2 separate regions of the Homo sapiens genome follow, and region 1 is linked to region 2. The links are contacts of gene promoters, found by promoter capture Hi-C in blood cells and fetal thymus (Javierre and others, 2016). All regions are on one chromosome and are shown on one strand. The core of a region is centred on a gene start or on the middle of the fragment in contact, and the rest is flanking DNA. Distances in the headings are between cores, read along the strand shown.

Region 1 (2,979 bases), core at 365-2,864, 200 kb after region 2:
CAGAGGTAGGAAGGGCACTGTGACAAATAGTCACCACTTGAAAAAATGGAAAACAAAATAAAAAGTACCACAACAGCACACTGTCTCAGGAGAAAGGATAAAGATAGAAGGCATGCTAGCTTTGCGTGGAGCTGATTGATGGCCATCAAAAGCAGGTCAATGGGAAGCAGGTAACTGGATCACAGGACTCTTAACTGGTCATTCCTTCCCTCTCTTGCCTGCACCCCAGAATAACCAGCATGATTCTCAGGGGTGCTTTGATATGATCCTACTAGAGGCAAAATCACGAGTACAAGCACCTACAGAAAATCATCAGAGGAAGAGGTGCTGGATGCCTATAACTACCTTTCCCAGGTACCAGGACCCCATCACCACTCAGCCCTGCCAGACTCTGGTGGTCCTCTGTCCTAGCACTGTCCAGCCTAGGTCCAAGGCACTCTCCAAAGGGTATCGTGGATGGAGTCATCCAATTGAAAAATGCTTCCTGTCATGGACAGTAATATTGATTTAATATATGTTGTGGTTTTGAGTCTTATCTGCTTTTGAAAATCTGCACAAGAGCAGGCAGCATAAGGACATCCTCGGCCATGTGCCTACATGCTAATTCCTGAGTAGCAAAAATACAGAGCAAAAAATCCACCGCTTCCTTCACTAAAGAGGCTCTTTGAGGGGTATAAAAGTCCTGCACTGCTAAGCACTCTTACGAAATTCTCTAGAATTCATGGACTTTGGGATATGCCACTCCTGACAATTAACTGTTTTTGAAGCCATGTATTTCTACTCTCAGACCCAGCTGGTTATAGTCAAATGAAGAATGTCCCCAGTCATCTGGGTTACTGTAAATGCATTCTGCAGACTCATTTCCACCATCAGATCCAAATGACAATCATCAATTGTAAAAACTTACTAAAACTGGCTCCATGCCAAGGCTTCTCAGAACTTAACATCAATTAACTCATTAATGTCCATAACAAGCCTGGGTGGGAGATACGACTATATCCAACTCACTAATGAGGCAAGAAACACTTAGGTAAATTGTTCAAGATCACACAGCTAATGAGCAATGAAGCTGGGATGCAAAACCAGGCAGTCTGGCACCAAAGGCTGCACTCGTAAAAGCTATGTTTTATTAGCCTCAAACACAATTGACTTGCTTATACATTACGAGACCCTGACGTTTCTTTGCCCTTGGTTCCCTATGTGTCACCCTTGCACCTGCTGGATGGTGCCCTTTTGCTCCAAAGCGCCATGTGCAAAGAAAGGATGCCAAGGAAGTTTGCACAATACACTCAGGGACGAAGGATTGACACTGTTTAATATGTTGCCTCTCCTTCCGCCACAGCCAGGGGACAGAGTTATTGGAGATTTTGAGCTAAAAGGGGGAAGGAGGAAGATTCTGGCTGGAAAAGCATTTTTCTGAACCTGCTAAACTTACCCACTTAGAAGAGTCCCCACTAAGTCCTCCACTTCATGAACACATCAGAGCTGCTCTTTATTGAAGTGCCATCAGCCTGCAGAGTTTCTCACACACATGCCTTTGATAGGCGCGCCCCCTAGTGGACCAGAGAACAGATTCAACCCTAACTGCCCACAAATGTCCCTCCTAAGGCACCACAATGCGTGCTAAATAGGAAAGGAGTTTGGAAAAACAGGACTGGAAGAAACCTGTCTCTTCACCTGGTGTTCAATAACCATTCCTGAGAAATTGTGTCTGGAGTTAAAGTTAATTACCGTAAAAAGTAAGAAGAACGAAGGTCAAGTATTATCATGGTAATGAATCATAGGTCATTTGTTTTTAAAATTTTTCCCTTAAAATAGTTCCTCTAAAAATATGAAAACGGGCTGAACATGGTGGCCCACATCTGTAATCCCAGCATTTTGGGAGGCTGAGGTGGGAGGTGGAGGTTGCAGTGAGCCATGATGATGCCACTGCACTCCAGCCTGGGCAAAAGAACAAGACCCTGTCTCAAAACAAAACAAAGTTTTAAAAGTACAATTATTCATGCATCCCCTTTTCAGAAGGAGTCCACAGGTCATGGGTGCTTCTGAAATTAGATTACTCCCAGCAATAAGTACTCCTCCTTGCTCCCTCCCCATGCCGGAGTAGGAAGAAGGGAGTAACATATCCCATACGAAAGTCACCAAACAGATGGAAATGGTGGCAACAGCACATGCCTTGCAGCAAGAGCAAAACATGGGCCAACTCTTCACCTGAGACAGTGACAGAGAGCTTGTGTTAGGACTGTCCTTAGGGGCCCCACTGCACCAGTTTGGATGTCCTTTCTCAATGCAGCTGACAGCAAAGGTGGATCACAGAAGAAAGATCTGCAAGTATTCTAAGTGGGAGTTCTTGATCTCTCTGCACCCCTAGGAAGTATGATGATGCTACACTGAAGTGGAAATGGCCCCACGAGACCTTGAGTTATCTGAGAAGAGCCCACTGTGCAGAGGCCCTGCCCCATGACTTAATGTGCTTGGTTCACTTGGTTCAATGACAGGAAATAAACCTGATCTTCTTCAGTTTTTCAAGAGAGCTTTCCAAAGCTAACCTTTTCTTTCCTACATGTGCAGCTACAACTTGTTTTTTATCCCCCCACAGACAGATAGGGTTTCGCTCTGTTGCCCAGGCTGGAATTCAGTGATGTAATCATAGCTTGCTGCAGCCTTGACCTTCTGGGCTCAAGAGATCCTCCTGCCTCAGCCTCCCAAGCAGCTGGGACTACAGACGCATGCCACCAGGCCAAGCTAATTAATTTTTTTTTTTTTTTTGTAGAGACAAGAGTGTGACTTTATTGCCCAGGCTAGTCTTGAACTCCTGGCCTCAAGTGATCCTCTCTCCTCTGCCTCCCAAACTGCTGAAATTATAGGAGAGAGCCACTGTGCCCAACTAGCAGCTACAACTTTAAGACAACTCTGCATATAAAATTAAACATGAAGACAGTGCATGCCATTCTCTCTGTCATTTGACCAAAAGCATCC
Region 2 (3,068 bases), core at 403-2,902:
TCCTTTTCTTTTGGAAATAGCTTAATTTTTTTCATCTTGGTCTTAAAAGAAATCGCCACTAGAAGAATCACTCTTTTTCCTGTCATAGCCACACAATGCCCTTCAATGCCAAACTGAGTCCATAAGACTGTTTGTTCTGTAGATTGCAAAGTTTGTCCTAGAGTGTGCTTTTTCCTTTTAAGACCTTATCAGCTGATTTAAAAATAAACATTATTAGCTATTTTTTTCAACAATAGGATAAAAATTCAATTTAAGTAACATTTGTTAAGCTCATATATATTTCTTTCTTTTTGGTAGGCACTCTGGGGTAGAAAGGTGAGTGAGAATCAGTCCTGGTTCTTAGGGGTAGAGTCAAGAAACAGAGAGAGTAGATATGATTTTCAAGCCTTTGGAATTCTGCAGCATTGCCTCAAGGTAGCCATGAGGTGGGACAGAGAATGAATGGGAACCCATTTAAATCAAAGATAATTGGCTAAAATAAGTTTCCGAACTTAGCATATAGCTGAGTAAGTTAAGTGCTACAAGAGAGGGGAAGAAAAGTGAACATAAGAGGGAAAATTCCTCCTGTCCCCATGGAGGGACTTTGCAGGGCCCATGAGTTGGGCCTTGAAGGACAGGCAGATTTTTCACCGGAAAGAGTGAAGGTTCCTCCTTGCTGAGGGAACACAATCAGGGACAGATACTGGGAAGTGCAAGGCATGCTGGGCACTCAGTATGACTAACGATAGGTTAGTAGGAGGTGTGCTGCTAGACGTAATAGACATGTTGTTTGGAAGAGTGGTTTAGGACAGAATGTGGAGTTTTTCTATCCTGCTGGAAGAAGAGAGAGCCAGAGGTTTTTGAAGACAGATGTCTCATGAGAAGAGCTGTGTCCTAGAAAGGTGTTTCTGGCAGCTAGGGGAGAGAGAACTTAGGCTTGGGTCAAGTCCAGATTTAGGAAGACCAATTAAAAAACAAACACATCGTCTACACAAGAGATGATGGTGGCGGGAAGGCAGGATACAGAACAAACTGAGTCCATAAGTGAAAGGCACAGGGTGGCTAAGCTATGACAGGAGAAAGTGATTCTTGAGAGGAATGATTTCTTTTAAGACCAGAAAAAAAATTTAAGCTATTTCCAGGAGAGAAGGAAAATGATTTTGTTTTTTTCTGTCTTAACAACACCTTTAGATTTTCTTTTGGTGGTATTTATGGCCTGACAAAAGCCAATTGATTTTTCATGCTGGCATGTGTTCCTGCACAGAGACTGGGGCTGAGATAATGGTGCAGGAAAGTGGAGTCACAGCATTAAAAGGCAGGTGGCCCTTCTCATAGAGTGGTGAATCAGTAGGACTTGGGGACCTACTAGAGAGAAAAGGTAGGGAAGCCAGAGATCTCTCCTGGATTTCAAGTCCAAGATATGGGGTGATTGTGGTGTCACTCCTGGAGTTAGAGCCCACAGAAGCAGCAGCAGGAACGGAGCCATGAGAATGGAGAGTTTAGCTTTGGACATCCCGAGTTTGAGGAGTCTGCAGACCATCCACAGGGGTGGAGCTCAGAAGACGATGAGGGTGGAATTCTGTCTGCCTCAGGTGCTGGTTGAAGGTGGGGAGGAGGCAGTGGTAGGAGAGGAAAAGAGGAGGGCCTCAGGGAATGCCTGTGCTAAAGGGGTCAGTGCCATGGGAATGAGGAATGGAGAGGATCCCAGGAAGCACAGGAGGCAACACAAGTCAATGCCTCAGAGCCAGGGAACAGGATGAACAAGAACAATCAGAAGATGACCTTGAGCTAAATGAAGCAATTGCAGCAGGTGGGTGTGGGTGAACATCAGACCACGTCGAGGTGAGGAGGTGGGAAAGTGGAGATGTCATTCTCTCCCGGAAAATTTGGCAGTGCAGAGACGGACAGAGATTGGATAAGAACTTGAAAGAGGAACAGGGTTGGAAAATATTGTTTAAGGAAAGGAATGATTTTGGTATATTTTTAGGCTGAAGAGAAGAGATGGGGGTGGGGGAGGATGCGAATAGCATGAAGGTGTAAGGGATAAAAGATGTATTTTTATAAATTTTTTGATGTCTCTCTTCTTCATCAGAGCAGGGATTCAGAACAATGTGACTTCTTTCCAGTCTTAAATTTAGAACAACTCAACGACTCCTCTCAATTCCCACTTGCCTCTTAGAAATCATGTCTTTTGTGGCTACAGAGGTTTTCAAGTATTCAAAATATATATTAATGCACTTTGGAGTCGTATTTCTTCTCTTGAGCTCAGTTATATTTTTAGTTATCCTTTAATTTTTTTTCTAAAAATGTTGCTAGTAACTGGAACAATAATAGTTATTTTATTTCTTCCACGTATATTCAATGTGCCATTTGTACATATATCTTAGGTGCATTGTATACATATATAAATATATATATGTCTGTATCTATATCTGTATATCTATATCTATCTTGCATGTATGTTCATTTCCAAAGTCACAGTAAAAAAAATTTTTAAGGAGAGAGTGGTTCACAGGGTCAAGGGCTACAAAGGTGGCAAACAAGATTGAGATTTAAAACTGTCCACCGGAGGCCATTCTTTGTCAAAATCAGTGACTTTTGTGGCTAAAGAGGTTTTCAAGGACTGACACTATATTTTAGTGCTTTTTAGAGTCCTATTTCTCTTCTTTTGCTCAGTTATATTCTCGGTGTGGGCAGAAGGCAGGCTGCAGTGGATTAATACATGAAAAGGCGAGCTGGGAAACTGAGGCAATGACTTCAGAAACCGAGCTGCAGGGGCACAGGTGAATAGGGGGTTGAGAAAATCATTTATTTATTATTAAGAATGTGGGAGATTTGTGTGTGTTTATATTCTGGTGAGAAGACAGCATGTGAGAGGAAGAGACTAATGATGCAAAGATTAGAAATGATAACGGACAGAGCCCCAGAGCAGGTGAGAGGGGATGAAATTCAAAGCACAGAAGGAGGCCATCCCCGGGGCCACAGCATTGTCTAGGAGGGAGGGTGGTGAGTGCAGGATAGGAGAAAAGCCCCGGGTCACGCAGGAGGTCACAGGCAGAGCTGGACTAGAATCCATGCCTCTCCATGCC

The links. Contacts are between HindIII fragments. The CHiCAGO score rates a contact against its expected background, and 5 or more counts as called.
Region 1: a fragment that was not itself captured here is called in contact with the fragment with the promoter of ELMO1-AS1 in region 2 in 1 of 17 cell types (M1 macrophages); the score reaches 6.2 in M1 macrophages.

What each region holds. Positions count from the first base shown.
Region 1 is chr7:37,197,492-37,200,470 of GRCh38, forward strand. All of the region lies in intron 13 of ELMO1 (engulfment and cell motility 1), which reads right to left. Among named protein-coding and RNA genes, the nearest start is that of ELMO1-AS1, 200 kb to the left of the region's middle. RefSeq lists an enhancer at 1,528-1,587. The HindIII fragment of the contact is 4,970 bases long and covers 1-2,979 here.
Region 2 is chr7:36,996,144-36,999,211 of GRCh38, forward strand. It overlaps ELMO1-AS1 (ELMO1 antisense RNA 1), which reads left to right and starts at 1,653. Exons shown (of 3, transcript NR_104120.1): 1 at 1,653-1,789. The region is part of intron 16 of ELMO1 (engulfment and cell motility 1); the gene reads right to left. The HindIII fragment of the contact is 6,356 bases long and covers 1-3,068 here.